Linked DNA regions of Homo sapiens: region 1 is linked to region 2. Evidence: promoter capture Hi-C in 16 types of primary human blood cells and fetal thymus (Javierre and others, 2016). All regions are on one chromosome and are shown on one strand. Each heading gives the region's core, a stretch centred on a gene start or on the middle of the fragment in contact. The rest is flanking DNA. Distances are from core to core; before and after follow the strand shown.

Region 1 (7,262 bases), core at 2,721-5,220, about 11 Mb after region 2:
GACGGATGTCAACTATTATTTTATTCTTATTAAAAGAAGTTACAAGTTCCGAAAATGTAATGTCATAAAAAACAAAGAAAGGTTGAGAATATGTTCCAAATGAAAAAAAAACACTTGATAACTGAGTGCAATAGGTGATCCTAGAGTGGATCCTATACTGAAGCAAAAATGCTGTAAAGGACAGTATCAGTCAATCAATAGCACTGTTAACAATATTTGAATCTACTGTCTGTTATCCAATGTTAAATATACTGAAGTTGAAATGTACTGTGGTTTTGTATTTAGGAATAAAGGGCCATGACATATACAACTTTTTCTCAAATGATTCAAATGCAAGAGAGAAAAAATAATAAAGCACATAGAGCAAAATGTTAATAGGTGAATCTGAGAAAAAGGTAGACAACATGGTATTCCTTATACTATTCTCACGACTTTATCTGTAAGTTTGAAAGTATTTCCAAATAGAAGGTTAAAAGAGAAGATGACAGGCTGAACTGAAACTTCAAGATTCAAATTCAGAACAGTCCAACCTCTTGCAGTTTTGAAATTCTGATTGTGCCCACTGCTGTGATAGCTTAAATACCACTCTATTACAAGAACTCTTCTAGACAGTCAAACTTGTCCTGATGTCCTTCTTGAACAGTGCCTAAAGAATAAAACAGGAAATAGGCCAGAGCCCTCCAGAAAAGGCAAAATAGATAATCCTTTTTAAGAGTTCATCCCTAGGTGGGTTCCCTTTTCCTAAGTCACTGGGCCATGGTTTACAACCCTCTGTGATCTTAACTCTGCCCACCTTATTCTGCAGTGTTCTCCCACTAACCCTTCATGATCTTCTTTGCGTTCCTCAGACATGCCAAACTTCCTATTTCGGGGCACTCATACCTGCTGTTCTCTGCCCCTGAAATGTTCCTCTCCCTGATCTCCTTGTGGTTGGCTCCCTATTGTCATTCAGATTTGAAATTTAATGTCACCAACTACGAGGTAACCTTCCCTGATTGCTACACTCACTGCATCTAATGAGCCAGCTAGAGCTTAGAACACCGCTAGGGCTAGAGCAGGAGCTCAGTGAGTACAGCTGCATGAACTAATTACGCCACACTCCTATTCATAAGACACCTTGAGTTTTCCTTCTTTTCTGCCTCACTCACATTACTCATATTCCCATTACGCAGTCACTTACAGTACTACACTTGTGTGCATATCTGTCTCCCACTAGATTTTAAGCTGCTGGTGGAAGCGATGACTCTCCTCTCCAATTCCCAGTGCCTACTTCAGTGCATTTGCAAGGCACCAAAAATTCAAACTAGCAAAGACCCACAGTTCCAGGAGGTTAAAGAAACTCACGTGTAGCAAATAACAACAATTACAGCTAACAGTAATTGAGTGCTTATTATTGAGGTAGTAATAAGCACTCAATAACTGTTCTATGATAAGTTCTTTATATATTTTATCTCCTTGAATCCTTATTATAACCTTGTTAGCTAATGTATCAGTATTATCCCCATTTTATAATAAGATCCTGAGGCCCAGAGAGGTTGCGTTACTTGCCCAAGGGTTCACAGCAGTGTAGAGGCACAACTCAAATCCAGGAAGCGGATCCCTAAAACCCATGCTCTCTACCACTCCAGTTTGGCTGGAGAAAATTTGGTGTGCTGCTCATTCTTTCCACTCCCACTCTGCCAAATCCATCTACCCATCACCCTGTGGACACTTGCACATGTGGTAGCAAGCTGATCTTATCCTGGTATGGCTGCTCAAGTGCTATTCTGTGAAGGGCATCACTGAAGGAGTACGTCACCCAAAACAATTCTTCACCACCCCGCTACAGTGACAGAAAATCCTCTAGGAGGGAGCCATTCTTTATGCACCGCAAAATCCCTAGTTAGACCCCACGTATTAGCAAAAAGGTTAACTGCTTACAGTCATAAACATTTTGGAGTGAAATATTCAGATTACCCAGCAGGGCCTTGAGGAATTGAACCCATCCAGTTAAGGTTAGCTCACGCAAAAAAGAAATTTCAAGAAACTTCTAGTGTGTACCATCCTTCAACACTAGATCGAGGTCAGCTGCAAGGACAAGCCTTCACATATGTGTAGTAAAGGGAAGGGAGTCAGAGGACTAAGTCTGGGCTCTAAAGAAAAAAATTGCAGATGATGTGAAAAATTTCCATCTTCTGCAAAATGCTGCTTTAGAATCAGTCTTAAATAGCAGCACTAAAGTTATTCATCCACAGCAAAGCAAAAACCATAGAGCAGAGGGATAGGGGCCCATACCATTCATCTAGACAATACTGGTCTTCATCAAGTTAGAACCAACAAAGAGCTAGATAAAAGCCAACAAGCCAGTCACTGTCCACAAAGCAGATGTTCACGTTACACGTGGCATTACAGCATCAGGGAGAAGGATTCCTGGCACTTTTCACATTTGAAAGCACTCCTCCCACACTTGCTGGTCTGTTTTGTTTTAATACCTGTGCTTCCCCCTCTGGGGCCCTCAACCTCTCACAAAATGGCATTGAAGCTGCTTCCACACATGACTGGGTATCTTCGGCCCTGGGCCTCTTCAAATCAGGCAACTTCCACTGGCTGTCAGGGTGATGCATGAAATCCCTAGAGAAGAGAGGAAAAGGACCACGGCAGGGAGCCTCCTCAAGTGGGAACCACTGAGATTAACTCATTATCCGTTGGCAGGTAAGAAGAGCAAAGTCCCTGACTGGGCTGGTGACCATGGGTGCTGAGACACCCACTGGGGACAAGGACAACTTGTCCAGTTTCTTCACAGTTAAGGTAGCAGGACAACCATCTAAGATTTCCCAAACTTAAGTCGTTTGAGTGCCACTCTTCATGACTATTTCTACGTCTCCCTCCTTACCTTTACTATAATTTAGTAACCGCGTCTCTATCTTGACTAGATTTTTGCATTTAAATATATTTATTTTAAAAGGAAACTCTATCATTGTGAAACTGCTTACTTAATGGAACAGATTTTCTTAATAGTAACGAAAACAAGTAACTATGTTCATCCATATGCCACCTCAAATCATTGCTATTACCCCCAGTGGTGCCACCTACAGTAGCAGCTTTGGGAAGCACAAGCAACACCTGAGGGTTCAGCGTTCGAGCCCAGGCCCAATCGGCTTTTCTCCACCTCTTCCCCTTAACCAAAGGTCCCGGCAAGGGGACGCAGCAGCAGTCTGCACGACCTCACCCACGTCCTCTGGCCGCCCCTCCCCTCCAGCAGCACCAGGTTTCCTGTCAAAACAAACCCTTGGGGGAGGGGACGGCGGAGGCAGAGCTGAGTGCCGGGGAAACCACGGCAACAAATCCCAAACACACGCTGCCGGGCCCGCCCTGCCTCTACCCTGGCTCAGTTCCCTACTCCAGCCCGGCCGAGGAGTGTGGGGGAAGGGGGTGCCCTGGGCCCCTGATGGCGGGATGCCGCTGGTACCTGTCCAGCAGGATTTAAACAGCGGCGAAGCGGCCTCCGAGGCCCGAAGTCCGTGTCCACCCCGACACGCGGGGCGGCCACTCGGTGCCCCGCTCCCCGCTCCCACGCGGGACGGCAGTTCGAGGTCAAACAAGGGGACGCGGAGTGGGAAGACATGAACTAGGAGCCGAGCTTGATGGCCCCTGACCCCGCCTTCCCAGGATGGAGTTCCGAGATAGGGCAGGGGAGCCTTCGGGCTGCAGCGGTGTCCCCTCCGTTGGACCTGGCCGGTCACCTCCGAGCCGGCAACGCCTCCCCCGTGATGGATACGCACCGGGTCCAGCACGTAGACAAGAGGAGAACGGCGACGGAGTGACCCCGGGTCAGGGCTCTCTGGGCGTCCCCTCACCGAGCACAGCACAGTCACCTCGAAAACTCACCAGCCCAACAAACCCCCCCAGCCCCAGTGTCCCCCCCAACGCGGTATTTAAAGGGCCCTGAGGGACTCTAGGGAGGCAGCCACGGCGCGGCCATCACAAAACCGGATAGCGGGGGGACGACGGCGCGACGGGGCAAGGGGATCCAGGGCCCTTCAGTCTCCGAAAGCCGAGCGCTCACAGACTGAACCTATTAGAGAAACAGTCTTCGTCAGTTTGAACCAGAGAGGCCGAGAACAGCTCGGATGGGAGGGTGTTTCGGATGCGAGAGGGCACGGTTCCCCCGCGCGGCGAGTGGTGCGGTCCGGGCTGCCGGGGGCGGGGTGAGAAGTGTTTACGGAACTGAGGCCGCCGAGCCGACGGGAGCGCCCGGCGTTGGGGGCGGGGCCTGCCAGGGCACTGGGGGCGGGGCCGAGTGGGGGAGCGGGGGCTGAGCGGGGGCTGAGCGGGGGCTGAGCGGGGGCTGAGCGGGGGCTGAGCGGGGGCTGAGCGGGGGCTGAGCGGGGGCTGAGCGGGGGGAGCGGGGGCTGAGCGGGGCTCTGGGGAGGTGGGCGAAGCCGCGGGCCAAGCCTCCAGTGGAGTGCCGGACAGATCCCCTGGGCTTCCAGGCGCACTGGCGTGGACCACACTGCGAGCTCCCGGCCGCGCGTGGAACATTGAGTGCCCGCACACCCCTGTCTAGACGGGGCAATCGGAACTGGGTGCCCACCAACACACTGTCCACACTTACAGAGACAACCCAACCAACAACGCTGCTGGTGGGCTTTCCCACGCACGTCAGCCACTAACCGGGTCATCTCCAGTTGCGTCTACACCTCCACATAAACACGGGTCTAGATTTGCACCTGCACGGGACGATTAGCTCCTTGGAGTCACACCCATCCAGGCCCTCTGAAGACTTGGCGTGCGTGCAAAAGATAAAGCGTCTTACTTCCTCTAGGGTTCTTGGCAGCACCTATCTCCGGGAGAAGTTTCCACCTTGGTTAATGTAAATAACCAGTCCCAGGAGGGCTCTGTGCCGTCTGGCCTGCTGCTCAGCTCCTGCTGTGGGCGTGCTTGAGGGTGTAGAGAAACAAGCTTCCCCCAACTGTTCACATCAAAACTATGCCTTCTGCCAGGTGTAAATCGGTGCTGTATTACTTGGGAAATAGTTTCATGCAGGAACTACTTACATGAAGTTTGTATAGACTAAAGTATTTCTGTTTAGTGCCGAAATTATGTCTGGATTGTGGAGGCAGATTGGCCACCACCGTTCAAAAACAACAACAACAAACAACAGGCAACATTTTAAAGCAGGGTAGAAAGTCAGTTGTTCAGTGGTTACAACACAGACTCCTCTATGGTTCCAGTCCTGGCTCTGACATTCACTATCCATGAGATCTTGGTCTCTGGGGATAACAATGATAGCTATTTCCTTGGGTTATTTTGAGGATAAAGTGAAATAAAGCATGTGAAGTGCTTAGCAGGGTGCACAGTAAGCACTCTAAGTATTAGTTATTGAAATTCTTTGGCAAACCACTGTGGCCAAACTTAGCTGGTGATCTGTATAAATTTGTATCTGTGCCTCCTTTTGCCACTTTCCTCTCTTCTCCTAAAATATACAACCTAATAATACAGGTTAAGAGATTAAATAGAAGGTGCTGTCCCCACCTGAGTTCTTCCCTACAAACATGCTCTTATTTGTGTCATTCGTTGGATAAGTAATCAGAATGACAGAAGCCTCCAATTTCAATTCCTGCCAAATGACAACCACCACACAACTGCCATCACCACCCTAAAAACTCCACAATAGAAAGATGAACACCCAAATCCCCCAAACTTCTGGTAATTCTGTGACAATGACACATGGCAACATTACTTCCTTTGTTAGCTTTGTAAGGATTTAAGTATTGTTTTGAGCTATGACATAAGTTGGAGCAGGTGACCATGAGTCAGGGTAGTTGTCCTTTATACTGGAGTGACCAGCTGCCTGATCCTAGGCATGACACTTCTTTTAAAGTTCAGATATGTAGCTCTCAAAGCCACCAGGAAAGCAGCTTTTGTCAAAGCAAGTTCAACTGTAACATCAGAGAACCAAGCTGAGATAAGAAAAGATGCTGGAAATACTATCTTCTGTTACTTTAATGTTAAATAACTTGCTATCTGAAAACCCTTCTGTGAATTACCTGACCAACTGCCCTTGGCCTGACTTGTGTATAAAAGCACTTTGGGCCAGGCACGGTGGCTCATGCCTGTAATCCAAGCACTTTGGGAGGCCGAGGCAGGTGGATCACAAGGTCAGGAGATCGAGACCATCCTGGCTAACACGGTGAAACCCCGTCTCTACTAAAAATACAAAAAAATTAGCTGGGCGTGGTGGCACGCACCTGTAATCCCAGCTACTCTGGAAGCTGAGGCAGGAGAATCGCTTGAACCTGGGAGGTGGAGGTTGCAGTGAGCCGAGATCACGCCACTTTACTCCGGCCTGGGCGACAGAGCGAGACTCCATCTCAAAACAAAACAAAACAAAAACAACACTTTGAAAAAATGGAGTGCTGTAAAATATAAGGCAGTTCCCTCAAAAATGAGCCTTGTATCACATTGTTGCTCAGAGGGCTCAGACAGTCATAACACAAAATCTTCCCTGCTCAGGTTATGTTTATGGCTTTCTGAGGAAAAAAAAAAAACAACAAAATCTGAAAAGGCAACCTCTTTAGAAGTAAAATAATTAGCATTTTATTTGAAGAAGACATATTATTACACCTAGTTTTTCTAACTTACCTTTTTGAACCACTTAGAGAACTCACAGTAATACAGTTTTTTTTTCTCCCTGTAAATTACACGGTAGACTAAATGTGGTCTATCACTCTTGGCAAAAGACTAAGGGCAGATCAAAATTTTTGTTCGATGAAGAAATAGAAATACTCATTTTCTTTTTACACATCTGAAATCTGAGTTTTAAATTATAATAAATCATTGACAAAAATCTAAAAATGTAATTACAGTTGGATTTGCAACCTCTCAGCCTTATAACTTTTCTAGTGGAGTTGCATATTGTACTGATTTAATGTAATGCAAATTTAGCTATACGGGACTCATCTAGGACAGAATATGAGGAACACAAGAGAATAATTTAAATACTTCCAGTGATCTTGTCCCCTATTTCTCTCTATGGGAGTTGTGAGGCTTCTCTTACTGTGTTTATCTGAGTTTCTGAGCTTCTCATTATGTTCCAAGCTTCTTTCCCACGGCTGGCTTCATGTTCGTGCAGTCTGGGCAGTTGCACAAGGCCCCACCCTTGGAAGAGCCCTGTGCTTGGTTTAATACATTGCTGCTGTTGTGTTGAGATTCTTAATACTGTGCTTTTTGAAAGGGGGCCTTGCATTTTCATTTTGCACTGGACCTGGCAAATTATGTAA
Region 2 (7,497 bases), core at 1,859-4,358:
CGGGAGACAGTGGAGTCACAAAGGCTTTGTCTTGTCTTGCTCTGTCACCCAGGCTGGAGTGCAATGGTGTAGTCATAGTTCACTGCAACCTTGAACACCTAGGCTCAAGTGATCCTCCCACCTCAGCCTCCCGAGTAACTGGAACTACAGGTTTAAGCCGCCATGCTGGTAAAATTTAATCATTTTAAAGAGAACAATTCAGTGGCATTTAGTATATTCCCAATGCTGTGCAACCACCACCACCACCTCTATCTACTTCCAAAACATTTCCATCACCCCAAAGTAAATCCATATCCAGGCCAGGCACGATGGCTCACACCTGTAATCCCAGCACCTTGGGAGGCCGAGGCAGGTAGATCATGAGGTCAGGAGTTCAAGACCAGCCTGGCCAACGTGGTGAAACTGTCTCTACAAAAATACAAAAATTAGCCAGGCATGGTGGCATGCTCCTGTAATCCCAGCTACTCGGGAGGCTGAGGCGGAAGAATCTCTTGAACCCAGGAGGCCAAAGTTGCAGGGAGCCGAGATCGTGCCATTGCACTCCAGCGTGGGCAACAGAGTGAGACTCTGCCTCAAAAAACAAACAAACAAACCAAAAAACCCATATCCATTGAGCCATTTCTCCCTGCTTCCCACACAGTTTTGTCAAGCAATTTTTTTTTCGTTTCGTTTTTTCTGAGACAGCATCTTGTTCTGTCACCCAGGCTGGAGTGCAAAGGCATGATCTCGGCTCACTGCAACCTCCACCTCCCTGGTTCAAGCGATTCTTCTGCCTCAATCTCGCAAGTAGCTGGGATTACAGGCACCTGGCATCATGCCCGGCTAGTTTTTGCATTTTTGTAGAGATGGGGTTTCACCATGTTGGTCAGGCTGGTCTCGAACTCCTGACCTCAGGTGATCTGCCTGCCTTGGCCTCCCAAGGTGCTGGGATTACAGGTGTGAGCTACCGCATCCGGCTCAAGGATTTTTTCTATACCAGCCACTGTTCTATGCCCCTCACATGAATTTCCTCATTTAATTCTCATGACAGCCCCAGGAGACAGGCATTATTATTATTAATTATTATTCCCATTTTACAGATAAAAAACTGGGCCTCAGAAAGGCTAAGTAACTTCCCTAGTCAAACAGCTGGTTAGACTATCGCAATCAATAGATAATTGAGAATCTGCTCTGTGCAGGGCATGGGTCAAGTAACTAGGCTTCTAGAGGTGACTCAGACACAGTCCTAGCACTGAACTCCCTTCAGATTTAGTGGGAAAGATGCATGTTGAATAGTTGTAAGTTAAGTAATTACAAGACTGCAAAATGCTGGGCAGGAGCCATATCTGGTGCTGGTGCTGGGGCGGGGGAAGGGAGAGCATTTGGAAAGGTTAAGCTGAGCCCTGGAGGAAGAGGAGGAGCTACTGGAAGGGGAGGACTGCATGAAGTGCCTTGCAGGCAGCAGGAATAGTATATGTAGGGCCAGAAATGGGAGGAAAGAGATGACCAGCCTTGCTGGGGTATGCATGGCTAGTGAGAGAGAAAGACTTCAGATAGGTAAGAAGAGGTGGAGTTTGTTGCTTTGCAACAATGTTTGGGATGTCACATTCATTTCTACGGGAAATAGGGAGCCACAGATGGCTCAACGCCATCCATTGAGAGTCACTTTACTAGTTCAGCTCTCTCAGGGCATCTTGATTTCCAAGTTGCCAGGAGTACTTCATTGGACCCTCCATGTACTGACAACAGATCCTTCTAACTGTAATTGCACTTTGAGGTTTTGAAGCAAAGACTCCATTTTTCTCACCCCTGTATCCCCAGGGCACACAACACAGGGCTTTGGCACTGAACTAAACTGATTTTTTTTTTTTAATGTGCAGATCCTGAGACTACCCTCCCAATCCTGAGTGATAACTCCCGCTTTGAAGACTCAAATCCAGGCTTTAGCACTTTTGTCTCTGTAACTTTGAACCAGTGACTGCCACCTGGAAGAACTTTGCCTTTTCTGTAGAATAGGTATAACTGTGGTACCTATTGTGGGAGGTCAGACTATGCTCCCCAAATATGAAGGATTGTTGAGCTGGAAACAATTAAGAAACCAGTACAGGAGAGCTCTCTGCCTGCCCTCTATTAGCCTAAAATCAGGGCACACATTTGAGGATTATTATTACTCCCCTACACCATCATAGAGGGCTTCCCATAGCACCCACTCAAGAATATTGTTATTATTACATCATATGGTTAAGATTACTGACAAGCAAAAGTCAAGTGGATCTGAAATAGAATCCAAGACAAGGGGCTGGGCGCGGTGGCTCACGCCTGTAATCCCAGCACTTTGGGAGGCCGAGGTGGGTGGATCATTTGAGGTCAGGAGTTCGAGACCAGCCTGACCAACATGGTGAAACCCTGTCTCTACTAAAAATACAAAAATTAGCTGGCTGTGGTGGCGGGCGCCTGTAATCCCAGCTACTCGGGAGGCTGACGCAGGATAATTGCTTGAACCAGGGAGGTGGAAGTTGCAGTGAGCCGAGATCACGGCCACTGCACTCCAACCTGGGTGGTGGCGCGCGCCTGTAATCCCATCCGCACGGGAGGCTGAGGCAGGAGAATCGCTTGAACCCAGGAGGCAGAGGTTGCAGTGAGCCGAGATAGCGCCACTGCCCTCCAGCCTGGGTGAGAGCAAGACTCCTTCCCAAAGGGGGAAAAAAAATCCAAGACAAGGGATCCTGAGCAAGCCCTCTCACTCTCCGAACCTGTTTCCCCATCTGTAATATGGGGAGAAAGTTCGCAGGGTAATTCGGAAAGGTCCAATGCGCACAGAAAGCGCTCAGCACGCGTGAGAATAGATACCATTTTTATTTGTTAATTTTAAACATTAATTACGTTTAAAAGAATCAGTGCTACTATTGTTGTCCCGGACTAGAGGCGGCTTGCGCTGCCGGCTCCAAGCACAGAGCCCAATTATGTCCTCCCTTTTGCGGCGCTGCCACCCGCGCAGCCCCCAGCCGATGCAGGGGAGGTGTGGCCCGCGGATGGGCGGAGCGATCTCAGGACTCGCCCCCAAGACCAGTAGGCGGGGCCAGGCGGGGCGCCCGGGCACTCTCGCACGCGCGCGCGCGGCGGCCCCAGGTACGCGGACAAGATGGCGGCGGCAGCAGTCGACAGCGCGATGGAGGTGGTGCCGGCGCTGGCGGAGGAGGCCGCGCCGGAGGTAGCGGGCCTCAGCTGCCTCGTCAACCTGCCGGGTGAGGTGCTGGAGTACATCCTGTGCTGCGGCTCGCTGACGGCCGCCGACATCGGCCGTGTCTCCAGCACCTGCCGGCGGCTGCGCGAGCTGTGCCAGAGCAGCGGGAAGGTGTGGAAGGAGCAGTTCCGGGTGAGGTGAGCCAGCGGCCCCGCGCCCCGGCTGCGCGCCCACCGCCCCGCGCCCCCCGGGGCCGGGCAGCCGCCCCGCTAGCTCCCCGCGGCCGCCCCGCGCGCGGACCCCACCCCGGACCCCTTCCCGCGGACAGACAGACAAAGGCCTCCAGGCCCCGGACCCTGCGGGGCCACGCCAGGCGGACCCCCGGGTCCCCAAATGGCGCATCTAGGAGCGCCTCGCAGCCGGGTCCTCCGTCAAGGGTGACGCTGGCGGCGGCGCGGCTCGTCCCTTTTGCGCGCTTCTTTTGTGCCCGACTTCGGGCTGAAATGTTTACATGGACCCAGTGATGCATCGATCGGGCGGGCGCAGCATCCCCGGGCTGGTTGTGGACGGCACAGATTTCAGCGTGGCCCCAGGATGAAATCTGGCCCTGCACACTCCCTCTGTGACCTTGGGGGGAGCGACTTCCCTTTTTTTGAGCCTCGTTCATAGACTTTGAGTGGTGGTGATCATTAGACCTACCTTTCACCGTGTTTATTAAATTAGATGATGTCCGGGAGGCACGCACGCAGGGCCCCGGCTCCTAGGAGGCGCTCAATCAGTGCTCACTGTCATTGTCATTATTATTATTGTTGTTGTTGTTACAACTGTCCCCATTTTAGAGATGGGGAATGGAGACATCATTCATGCCGCTACGCCAAGGTCACACCGGGAGTGAGTGAGTGAATGCTGGTGGGGTTTTGAACTAGGTCTCTCGCCGGGGTCCCTCTTACCACTGGACGCCACTGCTGTCCCTGTTTCCAAGGCTGCCTTGGATTCGTGGCCGCCTGCCTTTGAGTTTCTGTTAAGCTGAGGGGGTGTTTCTCTCCTCGTAGGTGGCCTTCCCTTATGAAACACTACAGCCCCACCGACTACGTCAATTGGTTGGAAGAGTATAAAGTTCGGCAAAAAGCTGGGTTAGAAGCGCGGAAGATTGTAGCCTCGTTCTCAAAGAGGTTCTTTTCAGAGCACGTAAGGATCTGTTGATGTGGCTCTAAGCTTTGGCTTGCTGGTGTATGTGTCTGGGTCTGCAGGCATGAGCTCATCCAGCTCTTTTCGTATCTCCCTTTTCAATGCTCTCACAATCCCTTACTCACTTAGATGGCTGCAAGAGTCATTGTGTCCTTTTCCTCCTATCCAACAACACGAAGCCATTTGTCTGTGCCAGCTTTACTTTTCTAAAGCCAGAGAGAGAGTGGGGGTGGAGGGAGCAGGGAGGGACCCACGCAGCACAATGTAGACGGAGTCCAGATCAGCATTATTTCTCAAATGGGTTCAACGGATTTTTTTTGCAACCCCTCCGTTATTTGGGGAATCATCAATGATTGAACACTGTAAATTTCTCCCGGTTGTTTTCCCAGAAGGGTTGACGAAATTAATGTGGTTCTTCTCTCTGGCTTTGCAGGTTCTACCCAGTAGTGAACTGCATTATTTGTTAAGGTAACAGAGGATTAAAAGCTACCTATAAATCAGAGTTATTACTCCCTGAAATGAATTGTCTTGCATTCATTATCCCTGAAAAGTTTTTGGGTTTTTTTTTTTTTTTAAGTATTGCAGAAATACATGGTGGGTTTTTTTTGTTTTGTTTTGTTTTGTTTTCTTTTTTTCTTTCCTCAAAATGTCTCATGGAAGTTTCTTTCTTTTTTCTTTTTTTGAGACAGAGTCTTGCTTTGTCTCCCCGGCTGGAGTGCAGTGGCGCAATCTCAGCTCACTGCAACCTCCTACTCCTGGGCTCGAGCAATTCTCATGTCTCAGCCTCCCGAGTAGCCGGGACTACAGGCATGCGCCACCATACCTGGATAATTTTTGTATTTTTAGTAGAGTTGGGGTTTCACCATGTTGGTCAGGCTGGTCTTGAACACCTGGTCTCAAGTGATCCGCCGGCCTCTGCAAACCAAAGTGTTGGGATTACAGGCGTGAGCCACCGTGCCTGGCCTCACGGAAGTTTCTGTATCTGCCCCTGATCCCTTTTTGTAACTCTGGAAAATAATCCACACTAATGTTTTGAGTTCAACAAACTATTCGATATTTATTTCTGGTTGGGGTTCTAGAAATAGAGCCAATCTGATTTATTTCACTTTTTTGTTTTCCTAAAGACTCCTTTGGATTCTCTAATTTTAATTACTGTTAGTTAATGGAGTTAATAATTTGAAATGTTTTCAAGGCTTTTCAAGTTTTGAAAGGGAAAATTTGAACTTTGGACAAATTTGAATGTTTTCCCCTATGGAGAATACAAATAGACATTCCTTAGTGTAATTGGTTTCTATAAATATTTATTAGTGTTAGAATAAACAAAATTTGTATTTTACTTTGGAGAAGCCATGCCCTGGCTAAAAGCATTCATAATCACAAATTGTAAATGCTGATCTGAATGTGTTTGCACATACGTAGATTTTGGTACTAGCTATGTTTGGTGCAGTTGGTCATGGACTATGAGCCTGCAACCTCCATTTCTAGTCCAGCTGGTTTTGTGTATGTTTTGAACAGTCTGTGCCTCTGTGTAATAATGATGGATTGTTGTGTTTTTTCCTCAGCTCCCCCTTTTCCTGTACCACTGCTTAATTAGAAGTATGTCAAGGACTTTGAACACAGCGGGAGCATACTTAACATTAATCTGTGGGTGGGTGATTGCTTTGGCCCGGGATCTTGGCGTTCCTGTGTTCTCAGAATGCACACAGGTTGACCTGAAATGTTCTGGCTACTTGCAAAAAGAAAACTGAGAGAAGCCATAGAATTTTAAACTCAGAAGATCTTTTTTTTTTTTTTTTTTTTTTTTTTGAGACAGAGTTTCACTCTTGTTGCCCAGGCTGGAGTGCAATGGTGTGATCTCAGCTTACCGCAACCTCTGCCTCCCAGGTTCAAGTGATTCTCCTGCCTCAGCCTCCCGAGTAGCTGGGATTACTGGCATGCGCCACTACGCCTGGCTAATTTTGTATTTTTAGTAGAGATGGGGTTTCTCTATGTTGGTCAGGCTGGTCTCGAGCTCCTGACCTCAGGTGATCCGCCCACCTCAGCCTCCCGAAGTGCTGGGATTACAGGCGTGAGCCACTGCACCTGCCGCCGCCGCCTTTTTATTTTTTTTAAAACGGAGTTTCATTCTTGTTGCCCAGGCTGGAGTGCAATGGCGCAATCTTGGCTCACTGTAACCTCCGCCTCCCGGGTTCAAGTGATTCTCCTGCCTCAGCCTCCCAAGTAGCTGGGATTACAGGCATGCCTGGCTAATTTTGTATTTTTAGTAGACATGGGGTTTCACCACGTTGATCAGGCTGGTCTCAAACTCCTTACCTCAGGTTATCTGCCTGCCTTGGCCTCCCAAAGTTCTGGGATTACAGTCATGAACCACTATGGCCGGCCAGAGCTAGTTTTCTTTACGTTAGAACTGTGAGTTGTCAGTTTCAGAAATTCCAGTCTATGAAAACATCATTGATTACAAACAACAACAAAACCTCAGTAAATTATTGTTACTTTATGTTATTTTCTACCCATGACTGGTAGTGCAAGGTAGTGTAGAATAACTGTTAGCACTGTCTTTAGTAGTGGACATCTTTATTTCAGCTCAAATTTGTGAGAGTGAGAGTTGCATCAATACTCATAATTGAGGCCTACTTGTATATGTCTTCTTCATAGGTTCCTTGTAATGGCTTCAGTGACATTGAGAACCTTGAAGGACCAGAGATTTTTTTTGAGGATGAACTGGTGTGTATCCTAAATATGGAAGGAAGGTAAGCCATAGCTTTAGCAGGGATTTGTTTGCTTTAATAAGTCCAGAGTAAATTGCTGTAATTTCTGTGTGGCTAAACCCTGGAATATGTGATTCCAAATATTTCACGCCTTGTCATAGTTACAGTTTTGAAAAGTTCTGTGTATATTAGGTAGATACACCAAGACAATTGACATATAAAGAAACCTTACAAAAATCCTTTTGGAAAGAAAATGGAATTAATGTTTAGCACTACTATGGGTCAAATACTGTGCCCCAGACCCTTGTATCTGTTGTGTTGTTTAGAAACCTTTTGGTAATAGGCCAGGCACGGTGGCTCACGCCTGTAATCCCAGCACTTTGGGAGGCCGAGATGGGCGGATCACCTGAAGTCAGGAGTTCGCGACCAGCCTGGCCA

The links. Contacts are between HindIII fragments. The CHiCAGO score rates a contact against its expected background, and 5 or more counts as called.
Region 1: the fragment with the promoter of TCP11L2 here is called in contact with the fragment with the promoter of FBXO21 in region 2 in 1 of 17 cell types (non-activated CD4 T cells); the score reaches 5.6 in non-activated CD4 T cells.

The regions. Positions count from the first base shown.
Region 1 is chr12:106,299,441-106,306,702 of GRCh38, reverse strand. TCP11L2 (t-complex 11 like 2) reads right to left here and starts at 3,970. Exons shown (of 10, transcript NM_152772.3): 1 at 3,762-3,970. RefSeq lists enhancers at 3,903-4,042, 4,053-4,132, 3,307-4,192 and a silencer at 4,213-4,332. The HindIII fragment of the contact is 6,335 bases long and covers 1-4,943 here.
Region 2 is chr12:117,186,081-117,193,577 of GRCh38, reverse strand. It overlaps FBXO21 (F-box protein 21), which reads left to right and starts at 3,108. Exons shown (of 12, transcript NM_015002.3): 1 at 3,108-3,360; 2 at 4,216-4,351; 3 at 7,007-7,101. The coding sequence starts at 3,122. RefSeq lists silencers at 2,892-2,951, 2,992-3,091, 3,372-3,421 and an enhancer at 3,892-3,981. The HindIII fragment of the contact is 6,345 bases long and covers 1-4,380 here.